2 separate regions of the Homo sapiens genome follow, and region 2 is linked to region 1. Evidence: promoter capture Hi-C in human tissues and cell types (Jung and others, 2019). All regions are on one chromosome and are shown on one strand. Each heading gives the region's core, a stretch centred on a gene start or on the middle of the fragment in contact. The rest is flanking DNA. Distances are from core to core; before and after follow the strand shown.

Region 1 (5,236 bases), core at 2,574-5,073:
AAAATGAAAATGAACATACTCAGAGCCCTACTTCTGAGCATATATTCTGGAGAAATCATCACATATGTGTCCAAGGAGCATGCACACAGCATTTGTTTGCTATATCAAATGCTAGAAATAGGCCCAGTGCGGTGGCTCATGCCTGTAATCTCAGCACTTTGGGAGGCCAAGGCGGGTGGATCACTTGAGGTCAGGAGTTCAAGACCAGGCTGGCCAACATGGTGAAACCCCATCTCTATTAAAAACACAAAAATTAGCCAGGTATGGTGGCAGGTGCCTATAATCCCAGTTACTTGGGAGGCTGAAGCAGGAGAATCGCTTAAACCCAGAAGGCAGAGGTTGCCGTGAGCCAAGATTGTACCACTACACTACTCCAGCCTCGGTGACACAATGAGACTCTGTCTCAAAAAAAAAAAAAAAAAACTACAAAAAACCTAAATAGTTAAGAGGATGGATGCACTGTGATATGTTTGTGAAAACAAGTAAAAATCTAAGCTGTTGGAACTTTAAAACATTTTGAGCCTTAAGGGAATCTGATTATGGGATCTGAGTCACATGTAAACAGGCAGCTATAAAGTAGGCAGCTGTGACCTTTTGTTTTTCTGATTAAGATTAGCCTTTGTCTTTACCTATGTTGTTTTGTAAAATGTTATAAATGACTAAAGGGTACCAGGGAAGACCCCTTCTCTCTTAACTGTTGATCTTCATTATAGAGTAACTTCCCTCTTTCCTCTCTCACACAGACTTCATGACTATCACATTGTCTAAGATGGAATGTTAAATACACTCTTTTAAATAGGAAAAGAAAACAAGCTGTATGGAAAAGAAAACAAATTGTAACTAATTAAATTGTTGTAAGTCATAAACCAGCCTTGTATAGAAAATGTTATAATCCTACTAAGTTTCTTTGTTTTCTGCTGGTATATGCAAGATCTTAACTTTGGAGCACTAACTCCATTCCTTTGGAGTCTGTGTTATCTGAATGGCATTCTCAGCTTTTCACTTGGAAAAATGCTTTTAAACTGGATTCTGATCCTTTCCATTATTTCAGGTAGACATACTAATAATATAATAGTATATAGTCATTTAAAAGAAGAATTTTATATATACTATATATGTGAAAAGATAAATGAACTTCAAGGTATTTTGTTGTCTGGAAAAGAAAGTTGGCAGATACAGTATAATGCCAAGCAATATATCTTAGTATATTGAATTATATTCATGTATTACTTATACAATAAAATGTATAATAACAAAAAATGAGGGATACAGAGAAAGAGAACTCTGCCATGATCAAGGCAAGAAAATACATGTGAAGGAGTAAGAAAGAGAAAAATCAGAATGCAGCAGGGCAGCAGTATTTAACACAAAATTTTCAAAGAGGGATCGCACTCTGTATATACTCTCAAAATTTGGGTCGGGGGGTGCATTTAGGAGTCCAGGCATGGATTAAGTAGATCCTCTGCTCAGGGTTTCACAAAACTGCAATTAAGGTGTCATTGGTTTGTGTTCTCATGTGGATGATTGACTGGGGAAAGATTTACTTCCAAGTTCACTTAGGCTGTTGACAGAATTCATTTCCTGGAGTTTGTAGGACTTCTTGCTGGCTGGCTATGGGCCGGAAGCTGCCTTTCAGCTCCTAGAGGCTGCCCATGGTTCCTCACCATGTGGACTTTCCAAGCATGGCCACTGCCTTCATCAGGCCAGACCGGACAGTCTCTAGAGAGAGTCTGTTCATAAGAGACAGTCTTTTATAATGTAATGTGGTCATGGGAGTGATATCCATCACCTTTGTTATATTTATTTTCAGAAGCAAGTCACAGGTCCCAACCCCTCTTAGGAGGAGGGGATCTAACACAGGTATGAACATGAACAGGTACTGGGAATCAGAAACTATTGGGGCCACTGAAGAATCTGTCACACAGGGATATCTTTGTTGCATTGAGACAGGAAAGCTATTTTAAGATGGTGTGGTGAAAAAGGATAAAAGCTCCTTACTCAAGCTCTAGCTTATCTAACTCTCAGTCAATAGGTAACAAAACACCCAAGAAGCTGTTAACTGCAAGCTCCTATTTCAGAGGGCTAGGGACTTCCCCAGATCCCCGCCTGTACAGTTAGACTTAAACTCCAACCTACATTTACCCCTTCCTCACTTTAATGCTAAAAATTACTCCTGGGGTGGAGATTTAAAATGCTAATGCTACATATGATGTATGAAAAAGCATATTGGGCCACTGTGCAAGCACTAGAAAAACTCCTCCTATAGGTGCCCTGATGTAACCCTCCCCTATAGAAAGACCCTATAAAACTGACCCACACACTATCCTCAGAGCAGTCCGTTCCTTTGCCTTTCTTGGTGCTGACTCCCTTGCGCACAAGCTGAATACACTTTCCTTTGCTGCTATGTTTGGTGATCTCTGTTAATCTCTATCATGGGAGATCATAAGAATCCAGGGCAACAGTAACAGCTTCTGAGTTTTTAAATTAAAAATAACAGTAATATAATCCTTAAATTTTTAAAATGTAGGACACTAAACAAGTAAAATCTAAATCCAGAGTACATCTGACCTCAAAGTTCATGGGCTTCTCACTTCCCTGGCCATAGTTTAAAGGTGTGTGTGTGTGTATATATATATATATACATATATATACACACACACACACACACACACACACACACACACACACTATGGACTACATCCAGTTCAAACTGGATTTCCAACATTTGAGTAAATCCCTGCAATGAAGAGAAAGAGCAAAGGCCTAGGAGTCAACTGGTTTCTAGCCATTTCTGGGGTGTAAGAATATGTGTATTTCTTGATCCTCAGTTCCAGCATCAATTAAAGGGAGTTAATTTTACCATCTATATTCACTGTTTTTGTGGTTACCCTGGGGCTCAAAAAAGACACTGATTGCTCAATAAATTCTTGTTCCTGGAGTCGCTGTTATCAATATGGTTATATAAAATGAAAGCGAACTAGAAGACAGGAGATGACATTCTTAAATTAGTGGCGTGTTTTACTGGTCGTCACCAACCCTCACATTTGTTTCATCACAAAAACAAAACAAAACTTTGCTAATTGCAAAGGAAGAAAAAATGCACCTGATCATTGCTTTAAAATTGTATGCATTTGGTTATTACTGATATGAGCTTTTTGTCATTTGTGTTTTTAAATTTTTTCCTTTTATGATTGTCTATGCCCTTTACTCATTTGCTTTTAGAGATGTTCATTGATTTGAATATAGATATTTTATTTTTCATGCAACAGTCCGTATTTATTGGTTGGGTGCGGTGGCTCACATCTGCAATCCTAAGCTTTAGGAGGCTGAGTCAGGAGGATGCCTGGGCCCAGGAGGTCGAGATTGCAGTGAGCCGTGATCACCACTGCACTCCAGCCTGGGTGACAGAGCGAGACACCATCTCTAAAAAAAAAAAAAATACTATATTTACCTCTCTCTCTCTCTCTCTCTGTCCAATACACCCTAATATTCCCGTCCCCACTATGGTGATTTACCTCTTCATTTTGTTTACGGTGTGTGTGGAGCGGGGGTGAGAGAGCAGGCGTGCAGTTGCCTTGGTTCAGCAGCCAGCCCATCGCTCCTGCCTAGTGTGACTGTGAATACTAGGTGTATGTTACAACCGGGAGCGGTGTACACTCGGGGAACCGCATCTTTGGAAACTTCGGTCCGTAGCGGCCGCTAGGATTCTCCGCAGCCCCGCACCCCGGTGGCCGAACCGCCTGCCCCGGCCCAGACGCAGCCGCCGCGCCCGCCCACCCGGCTGCGCCCCGGGGCGCGCGCCCGTGCCCGGCACCCGCCCGCGCCGCCGCGCCGCTCCGGAGCCCGCTGCGGTCACGCTGCGCCCGGCGCCGCAGGGTGGGCGGCGAGGCACTCACGAGGGGGACGCTGAGGGCTTCCGCGCGGGCCACCCGGGTCAAGCGCGCTCCGCCGGGAAACTTCTGCGGGCGCCGGGCTGAAGCTCCGGGCAGGGCTGGGAAGGAAAGGTAAGAAGGTGAGCCCGGGGGCGCTGCGTCCGCCGCCTTCCGGTGCTGTCCGCACCCTCGCACCTCGCGGCCGCTTCGGGCAACTTAGCGGGCGCGGCTTCTGCTGGGCCGCCGACCCCTGCGAGCGCTTGCGTCTCGCTGCCCCGCGCTGCCCGCGCCGCTCCCTTCCCGGCTCCGGTCAACTCCGCGCCCTGGGGTCCGGGGTCTGGGGTCCCGGCTGTGTCGCCGCTCACAGCTCGGAGGTCTAGGGGATCCTTTGCTGCGGTTCCTATCCGCGCCGACCCCTGAAGAACGCGAGTCGTATGCCCTAGAGGCTTCTGGGCGAATATTCCTCCCAGATCTTTTCCTGCAGGTCCTACTCTGGCCCCAGGCACCCTGGAGCCGAAATAAACAGGCCAGTTTTGCAAGGGAGAAAAGCCGTTCCTAGGGGCCCTTGTCAGTCCTGGGGAAGTCATGCCAGCGCCGGGAGTTTCCTTCCCCCCTACTCCCGCCCCCGGTCTGTAAGCAAAGGGCCTGACTGGTGTCAGTGCTCTCACACTGTTCTCACAGAGTTGGGGGTACAAAAAAGCTGCCTCATCAAAGGTCGCGCGGACCTGTTTTCTCCATTTGGGGATCCCCCTGCCAAAAAAGAAATTTGCCAACCCCTAAATTGTCTTATCACCATGTCGGTTACAGTGGTATAGTTTTGAGGGTCTGTATTTTAGGCAAAGATGAAAGGCACAACCAAAATACAGTAAGAGGGGCAGTGCCAAAAATTTAGCCAGAAGACATTTGCAGAAAGTGAAAAATTCTGTTTGTAAATAATAAATGGAAAAGTAGAATTAGAAGCCCACTTTTGGACGCAATTTGATTTACTAAACTTCGTTGCTTCCTGACTTTTCACTCTAATTCCGGTAGTTAGATATTTTGAATTTGCAAGCCTACAAACTGCAATTGAGTTTTATAGCAGCCTTAAAAAATTATTGTTGCCTGTTCATACTAAGTTTAGTGGCTATTTTTTTTCCTTCTTGTTTTTAATTCTACGGACTGTTGCATGAAAATATCCTCTTGTGAGAGTACAATAACTTGGCATTGTTCTTTGTGACAATAGAAAACCAAACAAGAACTACATGAGACAGAAAATATAAACAAAAAATTGGATCTCAGTTTCCATATTCGCAAAATGAAGAGCTCTGGCTGATCCCAGATTCCAGATATCTCTGAGGTTCTGTCCTGAAAAATCTGTGTGTGTG
Region 2 (5,614 bases), core at 2,509-5,008, 41 kb before region 1:
ACTTTGTTTGACCACTATGTACATCTCCATACTCATCGCCTCCTCATCCCAGACCCACTCCATGTACCTTTTCTTTGTATTCACAAAACACTTTGCCATCCCAAAGGGACATTCCCTTGTCTGTCTCCTTGAGTTTGCACACAAGTTTTCCTCATGCATTTGTCAAAATTTAGTTCTCCTGTTGATAACCTCATTTTTCTATTCTTGAAACCTTTTATTTAACAAATCTGAGACTTGGATTTCCTTGCAGTGTTCTGCCACTTTACAATTCATGCCCAGGTTGTGGCTCTGAATACCATTCCCCACCAAAATGAACCAGGGCTCCTCGCAGAAATGGCTGATGCCAGGTCTGGGTCAGGAAATGTACAAGATACTTTGTCATGCCACAAAGCAAGGAAGCTCTCAAAGACTTCTGGGTCATGTTGGTAGGAGTCAGGAACCAGCTTGTAGTGGCTCCCACTTGCCAAAGAAGGGACAAATCGGACATTTATAAAAGTGTATTTCATGTATGTGAAATATAAATTCCAATGGATTGAAATAAATCCTTATGTTTTTTTAAAAATCCAAAAAACAAAACAAAATTTAGAACCTTCATTATCACTCTTAGAGGATCTATGGAAGTCAACTCTATCTGAAAAGCTGTTTAAAAGAGAAAGTCAAGAACATATCCTGCCTCTTATATGCAGTCTACCTCAAGCACATAAAAGGTAGTTCATGTACCTCTCCATATTTGCACATCCCCACCTGTCGCGAGTTTCCAGCCACTTGTTTAATGGACATCCCCACCACCACCATCACTGTCTGCCCTCCTAACACTGCTACTGTGTCGGCCTCCCGAGTCAAGGGCTGGGCTCTGAGCATGGCTGTGGTCATCCCTGCTGCCTTGGGAACAGCTGCTCTGGTGCCCTGGTCCATCCTGAGGGGGAAGGCACCAAGGTACTGGCTCCTCCCATTACTTCTGGACCCAGATAAAGTGCCAATCATTAGTGCAAGGGATCTGACTTCTCCAGATGCTGCCCTGGCCAGTCTGACAGCTCAGTCTGGAGGGTTAGAGGAGTTACACCTCAAGGTAAACTTTGACCAATGAGAGATAGAATATAGGAAATTATCAGCAGATAAGTTTGCTTCCCTTCCTCCCCTAATGATGCACAGGCAGCCTGAGAGTTGAATTATATTCACAGTATATTTGCAATAGAGCCTCAGTTTATTTTGCCCACTAACAGTAACATTATATGGTCAATGAACTCAAGGGTAGGGAAGGAAAAACTAATTGTTCACGAGTAATGAGATTTTGCGCCCCCATCCCTTTTTTTTTTTTTTCTGGAGACAGAGTCTCACCCTTTTGCCCAGGCTGAAGTGCAATGGGTCTATCTCAGCTCACTGCAACTTCCACCTCCCAGATTCAAGTGATTCTCCTGCCTCAGCCTCCCGAGTAGCTGGGGTTACGGGCACACCCCACCACACCCGGCTAATTTTTGTATTTTAGTAGAGAACAGGTTTCACCATGTTGGCCAGACTGGTCTCCAACTCATGGCCTCAAGTGACCCTCCCTCCTTGGCCTCCCAAAGTGCTAGGATTATAGGCATGAGCCACCATGCCTGGCCTGCCCTTCTATTTTTATTTGCCTGAGTGGAAGTGTCCTCTATGCACTATTCCAAGGTGTATCATTTCACACTGGCCCTCTGGAAAATGTTCTACATAACCAAACAACCAGCTGTGTAATTTTTATGAGGTTGTGCTGGCTCAGTAACATACCACCTTGCATTTGCTTTTCCTCATTCCCTGCCTCACTTACTTTTTCCTTCACTCCTGCTGCTCTTGAATTGCATCTCCCAGTAAAACCTTAGTATTCAAACTTTGCCTTAGGCTTTGGGTTCTAGTTAGTTCATGAAGTAGCTGTGATGGCTAATACTGAATGTCAACTTGATTGGATTGAAGGATGCAAAGTATTAATCCTGGGTAGGTCTGTGTGGGTGTTGCCAAAGGAGATTAACATTTGAGTCAGTGGGCTGGGGAAGGCAGACCCGCCCTTAATCTGGGTGAGTATCATCTAATCAGCTGCCAGCAAATATAAAGCAGGCAGGAAAACCTGGAAAGGTTAGACTGGCTTAGCCTCCCCACCTACGTCTTTCTCTCATGCTGGATATTTCCTGCGCTCAAACATCAGACTCCAAGTTCTTCAGCTTTGGGACTCAGACTCAGACTCAGACTGGCTTCCTTGCTCCTCAGCTTGCAGATTGTGGGACCTTGTGATCATGTGAGTTAATAATAAACTCTCCTTTATATATATGTCTATCCTATTAGTTCTGTCCCTCTAGAGAACCCTAATACAGATTTTGGTACCAGGAGTGGTTCTAGAGGAACAGAATATTAAGGATGGAGTTATTTTGTTGGTTTGGGGGTTTCTGGAGGTGGCTGCTTAAAATGATTAGACCCAAAAATACTAAGGACTGTACTTCTAATAGTATGGAGGATACCAAGAGTCCCTGGCATAAACTGTTTAGAAAGTTAGGCAAAATAAATGTATTTGACACTCCTGATCCACTGCTCGTGAGAGACAAGGAGTTTAGTGACTCTATACATAATACCTTTGACCATATGCGGAGAACCAAGGAACATAATGAAGCTGGTTGGTTGCTCCTAAGTTCACTAGACACAGTGATGAAAGAAAATAATGAACTCAGGGATTCTGTCTCCCAGCTTCAGAAGCAGATATTGAGCCTCAAATCTTCTAAGATTGCCCTGAGTGAGAGTCTTATCTCCTGTGGAGAAAGAGCTGAAATTGTGGAAAATCACACACAAGCTCTTATCACGCAAGAGGCTGACCTGCAATGAAAGGTGCATGCACAGCCTCACCAGGTGTCTCCTGTTAAAATGAGGGCAATGATTAGAGGAGAATGGGACCCTGCAACTTCGAATGGGGACGTGTGGGATGAAGCTGGGGACACTGAGCTTGTAAACTCTGGTGAACTCTTTTTGCCAGAAGAAACGGCTTCCCCATCACCAGTAGTGGCAACATTCCCTCCCTGACCTACACTGGCATCAGCCTTTCCACCTTTCTCTGAGGAGATAAACCCTGCACTGCCTGAGGCAACAGTGATGGCCTCCCCTGAGCCAGTTGCCAGGCAAGATAATGTTGATTCTCCTCAGGAGCCACCCCAATACTCCTGTTTGCTTCTGACCTATAAGTCCTGGCAGGGCCCTAGAAGTGAGGTTGAGAGTGTGACCCATGAGGAGGTACACTACACTCGAAAAGAACTGCTTGAGTTCTCTAATTTAAATGAACAGAAATCTGGAGAACAGGCATGGGAATGGATATTAAGGGTGTGAGATAATGGTGGAAGGAACAGAGTTGGATCAGGCTCAATTTATTGATTTGGGCCCACTAAGTAGGGATTCTGCATTTAATGTTGCAACTTGGGGAGTTAAAAAAGGTTCTAATAGTTTATTTGCTTGGTTAGCCGAAATATGGATTAAAAGATGGCCCACTGTGAGTGAGCTGGAAATGCCTGATCTCCCTTGGTTTAATGTAGAGGAAGGGATCCAAAGGCTTAGGGAGATTGGGATGCTGAAGTGGATTAGTCACTTTAGACTTACTCATCCCAGCTGGGAGGGTCCAGAAGATATACCCTTGACCAATGCTTTGTGAAATAGATTTGTGAGGGCAGCACCTGCATTTTTTAAGAGCCCTGTAATTGCTCTTCTCTGTATGTCAGATCTAACAGTGGGAACCACAGTCACCCGACTACAAAATTTAAATACAATGGGAATAATTGGATCCTGAGATGGCACGGACAACTTGGCAGCACCCAGCTGTCAAAGGAAAGGTGGGCACAGCTACCATAATGGACAGCAGAGGCAAAGCAGCAATCACATAGTCTGACTCACATAGAGCTCTGGCATTGGCTAATTAATGATGTTGTTCTTAAAAGTGAAATTGATAGGAAGCCTACTGCATAACTTCCAGGTCAAATGAACAAAAGACTAATTTGAACAGAGAATCATAGCCCCTCAGTCAATTTCCAGACTTGAGCCAGTTTACAGACCTGGAATCCCTTGAATGAAGGGGGGCCCAGGTCCCATTGAGGAAGAACCCCACTACACTACCAACAATTTATGCTAATCTTTCTCCCATCCTTCCCCAAGGACACATCCAGCCTTTTACCAGAGTGTGCAGTGGGGAAAGGGAAATGATCAGACATTTCAGGGACGACTGGACACTGGCTGTGAGCTGATGTTGATTCCAGGGGACCCGAATTGTGGTCCTCCAGTTAAAGTAGGGGTTTATGGAGGTAATGGAGTTTTAGCTCAGGTCCTACTTACACTGGGTCCCCGACTCATCTTGTGTTCATTTCTCCTGTGCCAGAATGCATAATTGGCATAGACATACTTAGCAGCTGGCAGAACTCCCATATTGGCTCCCTGACTGGTAGGGTGAGGGCTATTATGGTGGGAAAGGCCAAATGGAAGCCATTAGAACTGCCTCTACCTAGGAAAATTATAAATCAAAAACAACACCGCATCCCTGGAGGGACTGCAGAGATTAGCGCTACCATCAAGGGCTTGAAAGCCACAGGGGCAGGGGTGGCGATTCCCACCACATCCCCATTCAACTCTATCTGGCCTGTGCAGAAGACAGATGGATCTTAGAGAATGACAGTGTGTTATCATAAGCTTAACAAAGTGATGACTTCAATTGCAGCTGCTGTACCAGATGTGTTTGCATCGCTTGAGCAAATTAACATGTCTCCTGGTACCTTGTATGCAGCCGTTGACTTGGCAAATGACTTTTTCTCCATTCCTGTCTGTAAGGCCCACCAGAAGCAATTTGGCTTCAGCTGGCAAGGCCAGCAATATACTTTTACTGTCCTACCTCAGGGGTATATCAACTCTCCAGCTTTTGTCATAATCTGATTCAGAGAGACCTTGATCAGTTTTCACTTCCACAATATATCACATTGGTCCATTACATTGCTGACATTATGCTAATTGGATCCAGTGAGCAAGAAGTAGCAAACAGACTGGACTGATTGGTGAGACATTAGCATGCCACAGCATTGAAAATAAATGCAACTACAATTCAGGGACTTTCTACCTCAGTAAAATTTCTAGGGGTCCAGTGGTATAGGGCATGTTGAGATATTCCTTCCAAGGTGAAGGATAAGTTGCTGCATTTGGCCCCTTCTACAACCAAGAAACAGGCACAACACCTAATGGGCCTATTTGCATTTTGGAGGCAACACATTCCTCATTTGAATATGTTCCTCTGGCCCATTTATTGAGTGACCCAAAAGGCTGCCAGTTTTGAGTGGGGTCCAGAACAGAAGAAGGCTCTGCACCAGGTCCAGGCTGCTATGCCAGCTTCTCTGCCACTTGGGCCATACGACCCAGCAGATCCAATGGTGCTTGAGGTGTCAGTGGCAGAAAGAGATGCTGTTTGGAGCCTTTGGCAGGCCCCCATAGGTGGACCACAGCAGAGGCCTCTAGGATTTTTGAGCAAGGTCCTGCCATCTTCTGCAGATAACTAATCTCATTTTGAGAGACAGCTCTTGGCCTGTTACTGGGCTTTGGTGGAAACTGAACGTTTGACGATGGGTCATCAAGTCACCATACG

Evidence for each region. The method cuts DNA at HindIII sites, captures the fragments that hold promoters and counts their contacts. A contact is called where the count stands out against the background at its distance.
Region 2: a fragment that was not itself captured here is called in contact with the fragment with the promoter of POPDC3 in region 1 in 1 of the 25 tissues and cell types used here (thymus).

What each region holds. Positions count from the first base shown.
Region 1 is chr6:105,178,601-105,183,836 of GRCh38, reverse strand. POPDC3 (popeye domain cAMP effector 3) reads left to right here and starts at 3,823. Exons shown (of 4, transcript NM_022361.5): 1 at 3,823-4,004. The HindIII fragment of the contact is 10,229 bases long and covers 1-5,236 here.
Region 2 is chr6:105,219,485-105,225,098 of GRCh38, reverse strand. No RefSeq gene overlaps it. Among named protein-coding and RNA genes, the nearest start is that of POPDC3, 42 kb to the right of the region's middle. The HindIII fragment of the contact is 8,659 bases long and covers 1-5,614 here.